Regions from separate parts of the Homo sapiens genome. Here region 2 is linked to region 1. Evidence: promoter capture Hi-C in human tissues and cell types (Jung and others, 2019). All regions are on one chromosome and are shown on one strand. The core of a region is centred on a gene start or on the middle of the fragment in contact, and the rest is flanking DNA. Distances in the headings are between cores, read along the strand shown.

Region 1 (7,317 bases), core at 2,367-4,866:
CAGGCCTGGCAGTCTCTGCAAGGCACAGCCTCAGCCCCCAGAGGAAGCCCAGGAAGGAAGGAAAGCCTGGCCCAGGGTTCCCAACACGGACGGTGCAGGGTGAGGCGGGGATTCTGGTGGGCACCTAAGGCCTAGAGTGGCCCTGGTGCGGGTGGCTGCAGGCTGGGGGCCCCCAAGGGGCACAGGAGGAAGCCCCCTCACCCTGCCTGAGGCAGACACTAGGCCCTGCCGCCTCCACTGCTAAAGACTTCCTCGTCCTCTCAGTCTGGGAGGTCTGCGCTGTGGAGTGGCTCCGTGGCCTCGGCCCTTGCCTCCCCTTCTGCATTTTAAAAAGATGCTGTAAAAGGCAGGGGAACCCCAGTGCACACAAATAGGGGGCTTGTGGGGAGCCCTTGCCGGAGCCAGACACGCGGCCTGAGGCTGGTGGGCCAACAGCAGCACCTGTTCCTTGCCCAGGCTCCTGGGCCACCTGCTGAGGCCCCAGCCCCAGTGTTTGCTTGAGGCAGCTCTGGCCCTCTGGCCATCCTCTGTCCCAAGCTGCCTGGAGTAGAAATCTCCTGGGATCAACATTGCTGTGGGTTTCAGGGTACCCGGACTCTTATTTCCCCAACCAGGTTACAAATGGCTTGAAGAAGGCTGGGGCTGTGAGTTAGAAACTCTCAGGATGTGTGAGAAATTCAACAAATGTTTGGAAAAGCAACAGGAATGGCAGCTCTTTTCTGCTGGAAGAGACATTTCTGTTCGTGTAACTTGAGACTGAAAGAGTGTGGCCAACCCCTGACCATTTTAAACAACAAAATGTGCCAAGCAGCTTAGTAGGTTCAGACCCCAGTCCGGGGGCTGTGGGCATGTGGAGGAGGCTGGGTGAAACTGGAGAAGTTCCCGCTGTGGTGCAGGCTTGGGCCCCGGTGTCTGTGAAGGCCTGGACCTGAGGGTCCTCTGGGAACACAGGTCGTGCACCTGAGGCTGGCTGCACAAGGAGGACGGTCTGGGCCAGTGGAATCTGAGAAGTCCAGAGTTCACAGGGAAGGGGTTGGGGGAGGAAGCACACAGGGAGGGCTGGGGGCTGTGTTCAAGAGGTGTGGCTGGCAGAGAGGGGATGGAGGGTGGGACACCCTGGGGGCCAATCCGGGCAGACCCAGAGCAGACCTCAGCTGTCACTGCCGGGGCTGCAGAGTGCACAGTGGGTTGAGGGGACGACAGGGAGCGTAAAGGGCAGGTCTGGAGAGGGTCTGCGCCTGTGGGATACCGCGATGAGCTCCCACAGCTGCACAGGGTAAGGCTCGCCTTCCCAGGTGGAGCCAACAATCCGAGACAAAGACAGCCGCTGAGTGCTATCAGGGTGGGCCTTTGTAAAGGACCGCCCTGCCCCGGGGAGTTGCTGCTGGAGCCGGCAGCCTCCCCGCCCTCAAGGACGTCTTCCCAGAACCAGTCCAAGTGTTTGGGAGACCTGAAGGCTTTTCCCTGTGAATAACAAACTCTGAGGCCAGGCAAAGCCCTGGTCAGTGTGCCTTATCTGCCGGCTCCCAGGCGGGGCTGGCTGGTGCCTGGCGGCTGTCATTGGACCTTCAGATGCCAGATTCTGACTCTGTACACTGGGCTAAACTGGGAGAGGCCCCAGCTTGTACAGAAATTAGATATTCACGGCCGGGCGCGGTGGCTCACGCCTGTCATCCCAGCACTTTGGGAGGCCGAGGCGGGTGGATCACCTGAGGTCTGGAGTTCAAGACCAGCCTGACCAACATGGAGAAACCCTGTCTGTACTAAAAATACAAATTAGCTGGGCGTGGTGGCTCATGCCTGTAATCCCAGCTACTCGGGAGGCTGAGGCAGGATGTGGAGGTTGCAGTGAGCCGAGATCGCGTCATTGCACTCCAGCCTGGGCAACAAGAGCAAAATTCTATCTCAAAAAAAAAAAAAAAAGAAAAAAAAAGAAATTACCTTTTCAGTTTACACCAGGGGGGCACTCCCGTCAGAGGAAAGCAGGGTGAGCTTTAGGACTGGGCGGCCGCAGAGCCCAGGTTGAGTCTGGACCTCCCTGATGCCCCAGGGGCCCTTCTCAAGGAAATCAACTGTAGGAGGCAGCCAGCCTCAGAGACTCCCCCCCGGCCAGCATCCCAAGCCCCCAGTGGAAAGCCCAGGGAGGACAGCCTGAGCCTGGAGAGCAGGCAGCCCGGCGGGGAGCTGAAAGACACCAGGGCGAGGAGGAGGCTGCGGAGAAGGGAGGAGGCGGGAGGGCTCAGAAGAGCCCTTATGAGACAGAAAGCAAACACACAAGGGGCCTGAAGGGGAGGGGAGACCCTGGCATAAATAGGGCAGGCGGCAGGCGTCACTGAAGGAAAAGGCGCCTTCTCCAATCAAGCCTGCTGGGCGTACCAGGTTCCACCAAGGCCAAGGTCCTCTCAGCTGTTCTCCCCGGAGCCTGTCCCTCCCCTGTCCTGCGTGGGCGCCCCTCCTCGGCCCCAGCATCGAAACCTCCTCTCGCCCCAGTCCAAAGCTGCTCTGGAAACCTGCCGCGGCGCCTGCTGCTCTGATCTTGCTTCTCCTGGCCCCACTCGGGCCCCCTAATCCCCCCTCCACACGAGTGACCACCTCCCTGCCACCCCTGGAGAGACCCTACCCTGTGGACCAACACATGAAACTTTGATCCCCACGAGCTCCTCAGGAAGCTGACCTTCCTGTCACCTTGCCAGGAGCTACCTGCCGTGCCCACATTACTGGTTCATTGGCGCCGGTTAAGAAGAAGAGAAATCTGACCGACCGGGATTTTCTAAAAAAAAAAAAAAAAAAGGAGGCCCGCCAATGGGAACGCTGCGCCTGTAGGGAGGATTCTGCTGGGTTTCATGCGGGTAGCACCGCTTTTCTTTTCTGCCCTTGTAACTCACGAAAAAACGCCATCACTCCAAGGACGTTTCTCTAAAAAGCCTGAGAACCCCGAAGGAAACCCGGCCCCGGGGACTCCCTGGGCGCGAGCAGCCTGCAGTCTGCGGGGCTCGGAGCGGAGGCGGGGCGGAGACCCCACAGGGACCCGGGAGCCGGGAGTCCGGGGCTCCGAGGCTGTGCCCCCGCCGGGGAGGGGAGACCTCGGGACCCGCAGGGGCGGCTTAGCGCGGCCAGAGTCGCTCCCGAGTCTCGCTCTGCTGGACCCGAGAGCCGGACTCTCCCGGGCGGCCGCCGCGCGGCTCCGACCTGATGCGCGCGGCCACAACGAAGCCCCCAGGCCCAGCAGAGGCGGCCGCACACCCCGCGGGCAGATCCGGAGACCCCGGGGCCACTTACCGATCTTGGCCAAGCTGGCCACGAGGATCCAGAGCGCGATGACGTAGGGATCCTGCACGTGGGCCCACTCGAAGGTGACCACCTGGAAGCCCCCGCTCTCGCCGTGCGCGCCGCCGGGCTCCACCTCGACGCCCCCGGCCCGCGCCAGCCCGCCCAGCGCCAGCGCCAGCAGCAGCCCCCGGTCGGGGCCCCGGGCCCCGAGTCCCCACATTGCCGCCTGCTCAGCGCAGGGCTGGGACGCGCATGTCGCGGGGGGTCCCGGCTGGGCTGGGCCGACGCGCGGGGCTGGGACCCGGCGAGGACCCGGCGCGCTCCGGTGCCGGTACCGGCTACAGTCCGATCCCCGCCCGCCGGGGTGGCCTTTAATCCCGCGGCCCCCTCCCGCCCCGGGGCGGAGCCTGCCCGCCCCCGCCGCGCACTCGCGAGCGCAGACACCGCCGCAGCTCCCGGCACGCCCGCCCCGCCCGCGCACGCCCACCCCGCGCTCCCTGGTGCCCACCCTCCCCCGGAGCCCGCGGCCTGGAGGTCCGGGAGGTCGCGGCAAGAGCGAGCCCGGGACTGCGCGGCCGCCTTCCTGGGGCGTGGGGAGCACAGCGCGGGGCAGCGGGACAGGCGGTTCCGCGCAGCTCCTGGGATGCCCGGGCAGCTGTGGGTGCGCTCGCCCCAACCCTCCTTCATAAACGCAGGGCCTGGGGCTGCGCAGACCCCACAGGGCGGCCCAAGGGTGCACAGGGGCCCCAGGTGTGTCTTCACACAGCCCCTCGCTATTGTCTTCAGCAGGAACCTGCATTCCACAGCCGGACCGGCCACTTACCAGAACTCGGGGGCGCCCAGGCCTTGCGTGGTGCGCTGGTAAGTCTCTCTGCCCCTCCCATCGCCAGCCAGCATCCCCCACCCCAGGCTCTGAGATGGGAGCCCAGGGGCCCCCGTGGTCTCCCCTGCCCCATCCCCTGCCTTTAGACCTCCGCCCAAAACAATTCGATACCCCCAGGGCTTCACACGGATGCGGGGCCTCTGCCCACAGCCCGCTCCGGCAGCACTGGCTCTCTTAAGCATCTCAGGCTCCACTGTGCAAACCACACCCCTGTTTTCCTCCAAGCCCACCCTGCAGCCTTCCAGCCCCAGACCTGGGACGCAGGTGGACTTCTTTCGCTCACAAGGTTTCCAAGCTCTTAGCATATCTGCTCTACTTTCAAAATGTGCACAAAACCAGCGGCTTCTGGGAGCCTGCAGCCACCTGCAAAGGCTCCTGCTCGGCCCTCTACCTGCCCCTTCAGTCCCTCCTATTGGGACCCTCCCTCTCAGAGGAAAGGCTCAACGTCTCCCGGGAGCTCAGACCCCAGCCACTGCCTGACCCCCACCCCCATGCACTCCACGGCCCACACCAGCAATCGGCGCCTCTCGGGGCCTTTGCACGCCCTGCTCCCTCTGTTTGGACGGCTCTTGTGTGCTCCCTTCCTCAGCTCCCCAGGGGCTTGGCTCCAATGCCACCTTCTGGTCCCACCCGATACCCACTCAGCTCACAACTGTGGCAGCTAAGCTCCCGCCTCCCCTGCTTACTCGGTTGGCTCCGGGAATCAGCTCACCTCCCAGCCCTGGGGGCTGCTGGCTTTGACCTTGAGCTGTCTGCCCTCACCCTGGGAATGTCTGCTCCACGAGCAAGGGGCTCATGCATACATCCCAGGAGCTTGGAAGATAGCTGGGCACACAATAGCACTCGCAAGATAGTGGCTGAGCGGATGGATGATAGATGGATGGAAGGACAGATAGGTGGACAAAGGGCAGGTGGGCGGTGGGGTGGGTGCAGATGGAGGATGGATGTGTCTTCTGACATCTGAGTGGGGGCTGCGGAGGCCTGAGGAGGACAGTGCTGAGTTCAATGACTTCACCCTGCAAGGGCCCCAGTTTCATGCTAATGGAAGTGGCCCGTGTAGCACAGGGAAGGTGCATTCAGATGGTGCTCGCCTGGTGACTCGGCTGCTGAGTGGCGTGGAGGGAGGGCAGCCCTGGCCTGGGCCACTGCAGGGTCTGGACAGGGCACCGGGGGAGTGGAAGTGTGTGACTGGCCACTAGTATGGTCTTGCGAGGTGGGAGCATCGGAGTCGCTCTTGGCCTGTGTCCCTGCCCCACCTGTCTCTGTCCCCCACTCCACTCCCAGCCTCTTGTCCCAGAGAAAAAGCCAGCAGGACAAGAACAGGATTCCCTCCAGTCCGGAGCTTCCCTGCTCTTTCCTTATGGTTCCTGGGTGGAGCCGTTAGGAACGACGTCCTCTCTGAAGATGTTGCCCTTGCATTCCACAGGAAGGCCAAATTTCCACCAGACCAGTGTGTTCCATGATGCCCACTGGACCTCCGGCCACCCCACCCCCCAACCAGCCTGTCCTAAGAGCCGACAACCTTTCTCCACAAAGCTGTTCAAAGGGCAGAAGAGCAGTGTCACTGCCTGGAAGGACAAATCCAGAACAGACACCAGTGCCAGGCGCTGGCCATCAGGTAGTGTGCTGCCCACACCTCCACTGCCCCCCACAGCAGGAAGGGCTGCCTCATGGAGAATAGAAAGGCAATGAGCCCCTGAAGTGGCGTGGCCAGAACAAGGCACACCCCACTGCCCACGAGTCCTGCCAGGGCACACCCCACTGCCCACGAGTCCCTGCACAGGTGAGAAGTGTGGCTGTTTGGCAGCATCTCAATCTGTGAGCATTTGGAGGATGAAATGCGTCTGCACTCCAAGGTTGCTGGAGGGCTCGGGGCAGACGGGCGCTGCCCCAGCCTGTGATGGGCATGGCCTTGAGGATGCCAGCCTCATGCAGAAGCCAGTCTAGGGGATTATACAGGGTGTGCACACCCACTCCCCTACCCTCGGACTGGAGCCACAAAACCCTCCCTCTAACTGGGTCGTGGTTTTAGGCAGGGCCGTGGCACCCCACCACTGCAGGGGCCACCATCCATATCAGGCAGACTGTATGAACCGTGCCCCTTGGAATTGTACAGTGCACAACCTGCACATCCTCATGGCCAAAAAGACCCAGAGACTTGTGTGTGTGTGTGAGGGGGTCTTGGGAAGTATCCTGAGAACATTCCTGTCCTGTGGGTGGTGACGATCTGATAACTGCCCGACCACTTCCTGCCTCAGGCAGGCACGCATAGCATTCTGGATCCTTCCACCGTGGCCTGGACCCCTTGTGGTCCAGGGACCCCCTGCACGTATGGGGAAGGGGCGTGGCTGTAAAACATTCAAAAATGTGGAAATAATGCAAAAGCCAGTCGGAAAACAACTGTAATCTTATACCCAGCTGCCACAGCATCTGAACTTCAGGATTAAGAAAATAAAACTGAAAACACCTAGTCTGTCACATTAATTTCCTGTCATGAATTCCACATACGGCTTGTGAAAGTGTCTTGTGGATGAAGAGGCGCATCCATTCATACTGTTGTTAACAATATTTAAGAGAAGAAAGTTAAGTTTTTAAGTAACTTCCAATGCTTGAAGCCAGGCAGGAGACAGGCATCACTGCCCACTCTAAGTTTATTTTTCAACCCAAAGTTGTCAGGGGCCAGGTCTTCTTAAGGAAGGTTTTATTCCACTGGGAGCCACACCTGCTGGCCTTCCCTTGGTCCACACCTGCTGTGTGCCAGGCACATCTCAGCTTCAGGCAAGAGGCCCCTCTGGGAGATGCCCTTCCAGGAAAGAGACCACCGCGCCCCCCCGTCATGCCACCTCCCGTCAATGCCACTCTTATTGGTTGTTGGATCCGGGGGATACAAATGTCTTTCTCAAAAGCAGATTAGAGCTCAGCCCTTCCCTTCCCGGGTGGCCTCTGAGGCCTCAGGTGGGACCTTTCCTCTTCTTCAGAGATGGACAGACTCTTGACCAGCCTGGAGCTGGAGGGCCTGCAGGACTTGAGGCCCGCGCTCTGGTCCGTCCTGTCCGTGTTGGGCCTGGGGTCTCCTCACCCGCGGAGACTCACCTTTCCTGGCTCCCTGAGGGCACCAGCCCGGGTTGGAGTCAGACCCCCCCACTGTGACACCCCTGCGGGGG
Region 2 (7,402 bases), core at 3,276-5,775, 130 kb after region 1:
CTCTCTTCTGTTGGTAATTATTTAGGATTTTTGGAATGTATTCAGGACCTGTAGCTTGGTTTTCTAAAGCACCTCGTAAAATGATATGATTACTCCAAGCCCTCTGCATGTTTTCAGACAGAACACATTGACATATTTTGAGACAAACTGACTATTAATCTTGTATCCAGTATCCTGAGATGAAGTAAATGCAGTGTTCTACTGCCTGATGTGAAAGAGAGCTATGTATGATAATTAAAGAAAATAATTTTCTGTGTAACAAGCAATCTTTATTTAATAAACAAATACATTGTTCTGAAAAGTTAACTTTTTCAGTGGCTGTATACAAATTATAACTGAGTTTGTCATTGAGTTTTTTATAGAACAAGCTGTGCACCATGATAGGTGAGTGGGAATAATTAAGTTCAAAGACTTAACACAAGTGACACTTATAGATGTGGGGGAAAAAACCTTAAAAATATTGTCTTATGATATTAACATATCACAGCGGAAACATCTACCCAAGCCCTGGCTCGCTCTCTTGTTTGCAGTGTAGTTCTGAAAATTATGTCATAATAGGACACAAAACTAGATTTTTAGTTTGGAAACTTCATATCTTATGTCATACTTGCTGTGATTGGTAAGACAAGGTCATTTTTTAAATGACGTTCAACTGATTTGGGAAGAATGAGCAGGCCTAAGAAGAAAATGCTCTGTGCTAGCTCTGTGTGTGTGTGTGCCCTTGCTGTGTGTGTGTGTGCCCTTGCTGTGTGTGTGTGCTGTGTGTGCGCTAGTGTGCGCTTGCTGTGTGTGTGTGCTAGCTGTGTGTGTGTGCTGTGTGTGCGCCTAGTGTGTGTGTGCTAGCTGTGTGTGTGCTAGCTGTGTGTGTGTGCTGTGTGTGCTAGCTGTGTGCGCTTGCTGTGTGTGCTCTGTGCGCGTGCACTTGCTCTGTGTACTAGCTGTGTGTGCATGCTAGCTGTGTGTGCGCTTGCTGTGTGTGTGCTAGCTGTGTGTGCATGCTTGCTGTGTGTGTGTGCTTGTGCGCTTGCTGTGTGTGTGTGCAGTTGCTGTGTGCTAGCTGTGTGTACGCTTGTGTGTGCGCTGTGTGTGCGCGCACGCACCCTGTGTGTGTGCTGTGTGTGCACGCGTTGTGTATGTGCACTTGCTATGTGTGTGCTTGTGTGCTAGCTGTGTGTGTCTGCTAGCTGTGTGTGTGTGTGCTTCTGTGTGTGTGTGTGTGTGCGTGTGGATTGTATCCCTGGGGAAATCAGAGGTGGGACTCTGCTGTCTCTTCCCCGAAGAGGACTTGCTAGGCTTCAGGCTGCCCTCTTGTGTCACCTCTCTGTCCAGTTGTGGTCCTAACAGGAAAATGTGTCATACCAAATTTATTTTCTGTAGGGTTGGGATGGGGTTAATTTGTCATCACGTAATTTATGTATGTAAGAGTATTAGAAGATGTTAATATTAATCCACTTTAAGCTTATAGATGCTTACCTCGTTTGGGTTTCATTGAGCTTCTTGGACCTGTGAGTTCATATTTTTCACCAGATTTGGCAAAGTTGCAGCCACTACTCATATTTCTTGTCTGACCCCGTCTCTCACTTCTTCCTCCCTGTCCCCATCTGGGACTCTAGTTAGCTTTCTGTTAGACTGTGATACTGTCTCTCAGGTCACTAAACGTGATGCTTTTTCATCCTTGTTCTCTCATCCTTTCCTTTAGGTGGTTTTATTGTCCTGTTGCGAGGCTTACTAATCTTTTCTTCCACTTGCCTAATTTGATGTTAAGCTTGTATAGTGAATTTTTTATATCAGAAATTAGGTATATTTTTGTTCTAAAATTCCATTTGAGGCTAGGCGGGGTGGCTCACACCGTAATCCCAGCACTTTGGGAGGCTGAGGCAGGAGGATCACTTGAGGCCAGGAGTTTGAGACCAGCCTGGCCAACATGGCGAAACTCCATCTCTGCTAAAAATGAAAATTAGCTGGGCATGGTGGTGGGCACCTGTAGTCCCAGCTTCTTGGGGGGCTGAGGCAGGAGAATCGTTTGAACCTGGGAGGCGGAGGTTGCAGTGAGCCAAGATTGCAGCACTGCACTCCAGCCTAGACGACAGAGCAAGACTCCGTCTCAAAAAAAAAACAAAAAAACTCCATTTGATTTTTTTCATTAGTTTTATATCCCATTATGTTCACGTTTCCATTAACTGCTTAACCATGTTTTTAACAGGTTTACTAGAAATTCCCAACTGTTCCAAAGTGGTGGTACCCGCAGGCCCGACTGCTAGTTGTGTATGACCACGTCTGCCGGTCCATGTTTTCAGCACCCATTGCCTGAAGTGTTAGCACCTTCACTCCGGTGGGTGTGGGGTAGTGGAGGGAGTGGGGTGGTGGAGGGCGCGGGGTGGCGGAGGGCGCGGGGTGGTGGAACGTGTGGGGTAGACCTCTTTCTGGTTTCATTGGCTTCTCCTTGTTCAGCACCTTCTCATGTGTCTGCGGCTCATTGGGATTTCCTGTTTGTAAAGTACCTATTCAAGTATTTTCCCTACTTTTCTATTGGATGGTCTGTCTCATTTATTTGCAGGTGTTATTTATGATTCTGGGTAGTAGTGCTTTGTGAATTACATTTGCAAATAGCTTTTCTTGTCTTTTTACTTCAATGGTGTCTTTTAAGAGAAATTTTAAACTTTAATATGGCCCAATGTATCAATATTTTCTTTTATGATTAAAGCATTTTGGATCCTAATTTTTAATAATCTTTACTTTGCCTTGATCATAAAGATACTCTGTTACCTTCCAAAGGATTTTATAGTTTTGTATATTTTGGATTTTAGATATAGATTCTACCCAGAATTGATTTTTGCGCCTGTTGTGAAGCTTAAGGATCCAGTTTCATTGTGTTGCAGACATAAGCCCAGTTTTCCCAGTCCCGGCTGCTGAAGATTCCTTTGTCAGGATGATCTCTGTGTCCGTTTCTGCATCTCCTTGTCTGTCTCTGCCAATACCACACACTCTGGGGCGCGTACCTCCATCTTATGTTAGGATGTCTTGGCTGTTTTTGACCCTTTGTGTTTCATACATTTTAGAACTAGCCGGTCGAGTTGGGATTTTGTTTGGGATTGTGTTGAACCTGTAGATCAACTTGGGAATCATTGACGTACTTGCAGTACTGGGTTTTACAAGCTCTGAACATGGTATCTGTCTCTCCAAATGTTAGGGCTCCTTCAGCGGGTGTTCATACAGCCTGATACTTTTCACAGTGGTCTTGTATGTCTTTTGTTACATTTAATCCTAGGTCCTTGTTATTTTGCGATGCTGTTTTTAAAAATGTGCTTGGATTTCATTTTCCTAATTATGTGTTGCCATTTCATGGAAATTCATTTTTGTGTATTAATTTGTATCCGGCAGTCTAGTAATTTTAATCATTTGCCTGTAGCTGTTTCCTCATTTTTAGGCACACAGTCATGTTTTCTATGAGTAATGGGTTTTCTTTCCCATTCCTGTTGTTCTGGATTTTTACTTTATGTTTTTATTTTTGTTTTGTTTTTTGCTTTTCTACACTGGTCGGAACCCCTAGTGCAGTGCTGATTAGAGGTGGTAACAGAGTGGGCATCGTTGTCTTCTTCCTGATATTCAAAGGGGTGATAAATTCTCACCATTTATCCACTCACTTGTAATGGATTTTTTTTGCTTGTTTTAAAGCTTCTTCTATCAATAATTCGCCTCAAGAATGGATGACTTTTATCACTTTTTCTGCAGTGATGGAGATGACCATGATTTTTATCATTTAATATATTGATGTGTTTAACGACCATAATTTGCTTTTGTTAAAAATAAACCTTGAATTTCTGAGATAAGTCCAACTTAATAATTATGGATTTTCTTTTACATACATATTGTTATATTTGGTTTGTTAATATTTTGTTTAGCATTTTGTGGCCCAGCTATACTACCTAGCACCTGTGTTTGGGCCCTGATTTCCTCGTCTGTACAATGGGGAAATAGTGGCTTCCTCACAGGATTGTTGTGAAGGTGAAATGAGTTAGTATGAATAAGACTCTCGGGCAGCATCTGGTGCGTCCTGAGCACTGGGTAGCTGCGTGCTCTAGTACAGTGGTTAGTATCTCTCTTCACGGGTGACAGCCACTTACGATTTTCCTTTGTAATGCTGTTCTTGAAAGGATTCGCATCTTTACACCACCGTAAAATGAGCTAGGTTGTGTATTCTTTCTCCATTCTCTAGGAGAATTTACTTAAGATTATAATTATTTCTTCCATGGATGTTTGATGGAACTTGCTGGTGAAGTCACTTGTGCCTGGAACTTTCTTTGTCAGGAGGTTTGACTACTGATCCAGTATAACTCAGTGTTCCAGGATGTGGCAGAACCGTTCACACAGACCATCCTTATGTCCCCCCTGCCTTTACGCTGCATATCCCTGAGTTGGGCTGGGGCCGTGTGACTACTGAGCAACAGCCTGTGTGTGGGACTGAGGTGAGTCATTTCAGGGCCAGAGCAGCGGGAGCTGGTGCGTCACTGTGATAGCTTCCCTGCCAGTGACCTGGGCAGCTGCATCACAGGATTAGGAAGTCTGTTTGTCTTCTGTTAGAAGAGATCTCTTGTTATTCCTGAAGTTGGACGTTGTGTGAGTAATACATTTTGTGTGTCCAGCCACTGAAGTGTTAGGGGTTTTCTTTTGTAGCTGGCAGTGACTTCCCCTAAGTCACAGGGCTGAGCAGGCTTTCCATTTCTTTTCGAGTTAGTTTTTGTAAGTTATGTGTCTCTAAGAATTGGTCCATATTGTCTTAATTTTCCATTTTGGGGGGTATAACACACATAATTTGAATGGCTTCAACATTTGAAGTTGTGTGTGTCCCTGTGGCAGAGATGTAGGGACAGTTGTGTCCCTTCAAGCGAGACCTTGCCATCCAGGGGCAGGGAGTACAGGGGTAGAGACCATCTCCAGCCACCATGCTGTCAGGCTGTGCCTGGGCTCTGGAGCTGAGGACACACTCATCCAGGCAGCTGCAGCCAGTGTCCAAGCAGGCAGGGCCTGGGCCTAATGCGAACCACAGGGAGCTCCCTAGCAGGTCATCTCCAGAGCCTCCCTGAGGCCTCCCGGCCTCCTCCCCTTGCTGCTGTTCAGGGGCATTCCTCACCAGTGAGCCTCTTGTGATACAAAGGCCACCTCAGCATCTGCCTCCCGGGGACTCAGCCCATTCTTGGCCATTCTTCATATTCGTTATTTGAACTTTCTCTTCAGTCCTTTCAAAGAAACACCCTTTGCCTCCATTTTCTTTTCAATTTCTGATCTGATCTATCATTAGCCATGCTGAAATTACAAATAAATATGGGTTAAAATATTATTTTATCAATTTCCCTGTTCTGTGTTTCTTTCTCTTGTTTTATCAGCAAAGCTGATTTTTTTTTTTTTTTTTTTTTTTTTTTTTTTTTTTTTTTTTGAGATGGAGTCTCGCTCTATTGCCCAGGCTGGAGTGCAGTGGCGTGATCTCGGCTCACTGCAAGCTCCGCCTCCCGGGTTCACGCCATTCTCCTGCCTCAGCCTCCCGAGTAGCTGGGACTACAGGCGCCCGCCACCACGCCTGGCTAATTTTTTGTATTTTTAGCAGAGACAGGGTTTCACTGTGTTAGCCAGGATGGTCTCAATCTCCTGACCTTGTGATCTGCCCGCCTCGGCCTCCCAAAGTGCTGGGACTACAGGTGTGAGCCACCGCGCCCGGCCTCAGCGAAGCTGATTGATCCACCATCTCATTAGTTTAAATCTGCCATCTCATTTTGTGCTGTTTGTTCTATTCATGGTTTTTTCCCTCTTCACTTTTGCCACTTTTGGATGATCTCCTGTCATCCCGCATGTCCCTCTGCTCGTTTGGAGACTGTACTCTGCTTCTGTCCCATGCTTATGGCATGTGTGCGTTTAGTCCATGCTCTCACCCACCTCTGGGGTTGGTTCCTGGAGCGCGAGGCGCGCGTCCCTCTCCATGCTCCTGTTCTGCTCACCTGTGGGGGTTCCCAAGTATTTTTATGAAACATTTTAATCTCACAAAGTATTGATATAGCCACTGTTAATTTGGAGTTATTGACCTATTTATTCTCTTTGCTCCACTTTCTTCACAAACCAGACATGCCATTTGAGATCACCTTTGCTTTCTGCATTTAGAATTTCTTTAAATGTCTGCTGGTGGCAAATTCTCTTTTCATTGTCCAAAAATGCCTTTATTGTATCCTCATTTTGGAAAACTGTTTCGCTGGGCTAGTATCTCAGGTTGGCATTTTTTTTATAGCAGCCTGTGATGACATTGTCCTGTTTTGGGGGCTCTGGTGGTGTTCACAGTGTTCATGTCCATTCCCCTTGAATCTAGACCCCACCCAGGGCTACACCAGTGCTAGAGCAGGACTCACACCTGACAGATGGCTGGTCCGCCTGCTCCTCCTTCACGGTCCTCCTGTCTAGATGAGGAAGCGAGAGACTCCCTCGGGAAAAGGCGACACAAGGGCCTTGGCCCTGTGAGCTTCAGCCCAGTGGAGGCACTCAGCACACTCCCCACCTGGGGCCCCTCCAGTACCTATCCCCTGTTATCACCTGTTACAGACACGTGTGCTCTGAGGAACAGAGAAATCCATGTTTTAACACCTTTATTTGTCACTTTACCAACTTGACACACAATGTTAACGACAGCAGACACAGGAGCAGTGTGCACACAGACACGAGCTGTTTCACTACAGGTTTGCAAGCCAGGCTCAACAGCAAGTCCAACAGGCAACACCACACCTCTCACCTGCAGGAGGAACAGCAGGGCCACCCCACCCCGCGGACGTCCGCGGTGAGTGCGGTTTAGACATCAGCAGAAGTGGCTTTCAGAGTCAGAACAGCCATGACGTGGACATCACCCGTCACACTGATAAAGTGATGCACTCAGTACTCCCTAATGTTAATCACACAGTGTAAAAATATATTGCACATATATATATATATATATATATATAAATTTGTTTCCCTTTCTTGAAAAAAACTTAGTACAAACTAGTAGTTACACGATCCCTTTCAAGTTTCTCTTAAGTTGTGCAGATTTCCTTTGTGGTTTGGCTTGGTTTAGTTTTTTAAGAGGTCGAAAGAAAGAAGTAAAGCATCTCGATGTGCCCAGGACTCCCCATCACATGCCCAGGGACAAACGCTGCACCCTGGACCACCAGAGCTCACAAAGTGTTCAGTAGTAAGAGGAGGAAAGATGCAGGTTCAGTGTTTGAAGGACGTTCTAGCCTATTGATAACATCACGGTCCAGCCTCATCTTCCCCCTGTGCCATCCCCTCGTGGTGTGTGCTGTGGGGTGGGAGGGTGGCCAGTGCACGCGTGATTGCCCACAGGAGGAGATGAGCTGGGCCAGTAGAGGGACAGGTAAGTGTCCAGGGC

The links. The method cuts DNA at HindIII sites, captures the fragments that hold promoters and counts their contacts. A contact is called where the count stands out against the background at its distance.
Region 2: a contact is called between a fragment that was not itself captured here and the fragment with the promoter of SLC9A3 in region 1, in 7 of the 25 tissues and cell types used here (H1 embryonic stem cells, IMR-90 fibroblasts, bladder and 4 more).

What each region holds. Positions count from the first base shown.
Region 1 is chr5:520,833-528,149 of GRCh38, forward strand. It overlaps SLC9A3 (solute carrier family 9 member A3), which reads right to left and starts at 3,617. Exons shown (of 17, transcript NM_004174.4): 1 at 3,280-3,617. The coding sequence starts at 3,490. It overlaps LOC107986395 (a long non-coding RNA gene), which reads left to right and starts at 3,826. Exons shown (of 2, transcript XR_001742543.1): 1 at 3,826-4,131; 2 at 5,580-6,623. RefSeq lists an enhancer at 5,184-5,816. The HindIII fragment of the contact is 12,710 bases long and covers 1-7,260 here.
Region 2 is chr5:653,253-660,654 of GRCh38, forward strand. CEP72 (centrosomal protein 72) reads left to right here. Exons shown (of 12, transcript NM_018140.4): 12 at 1-301. TPPP (tubulin polymerization promoting protein) reads right to left here. Exons shown (of 4, transcript NM_007030.3): 4 at 6,610-7,402. Among named protein-coding and RNA genes, the nearest start is that of TPPP, 36 kb to the right of the region's middle. The HindIII fragment of the contact is 7,661 bases long and covers 696-7,402 here.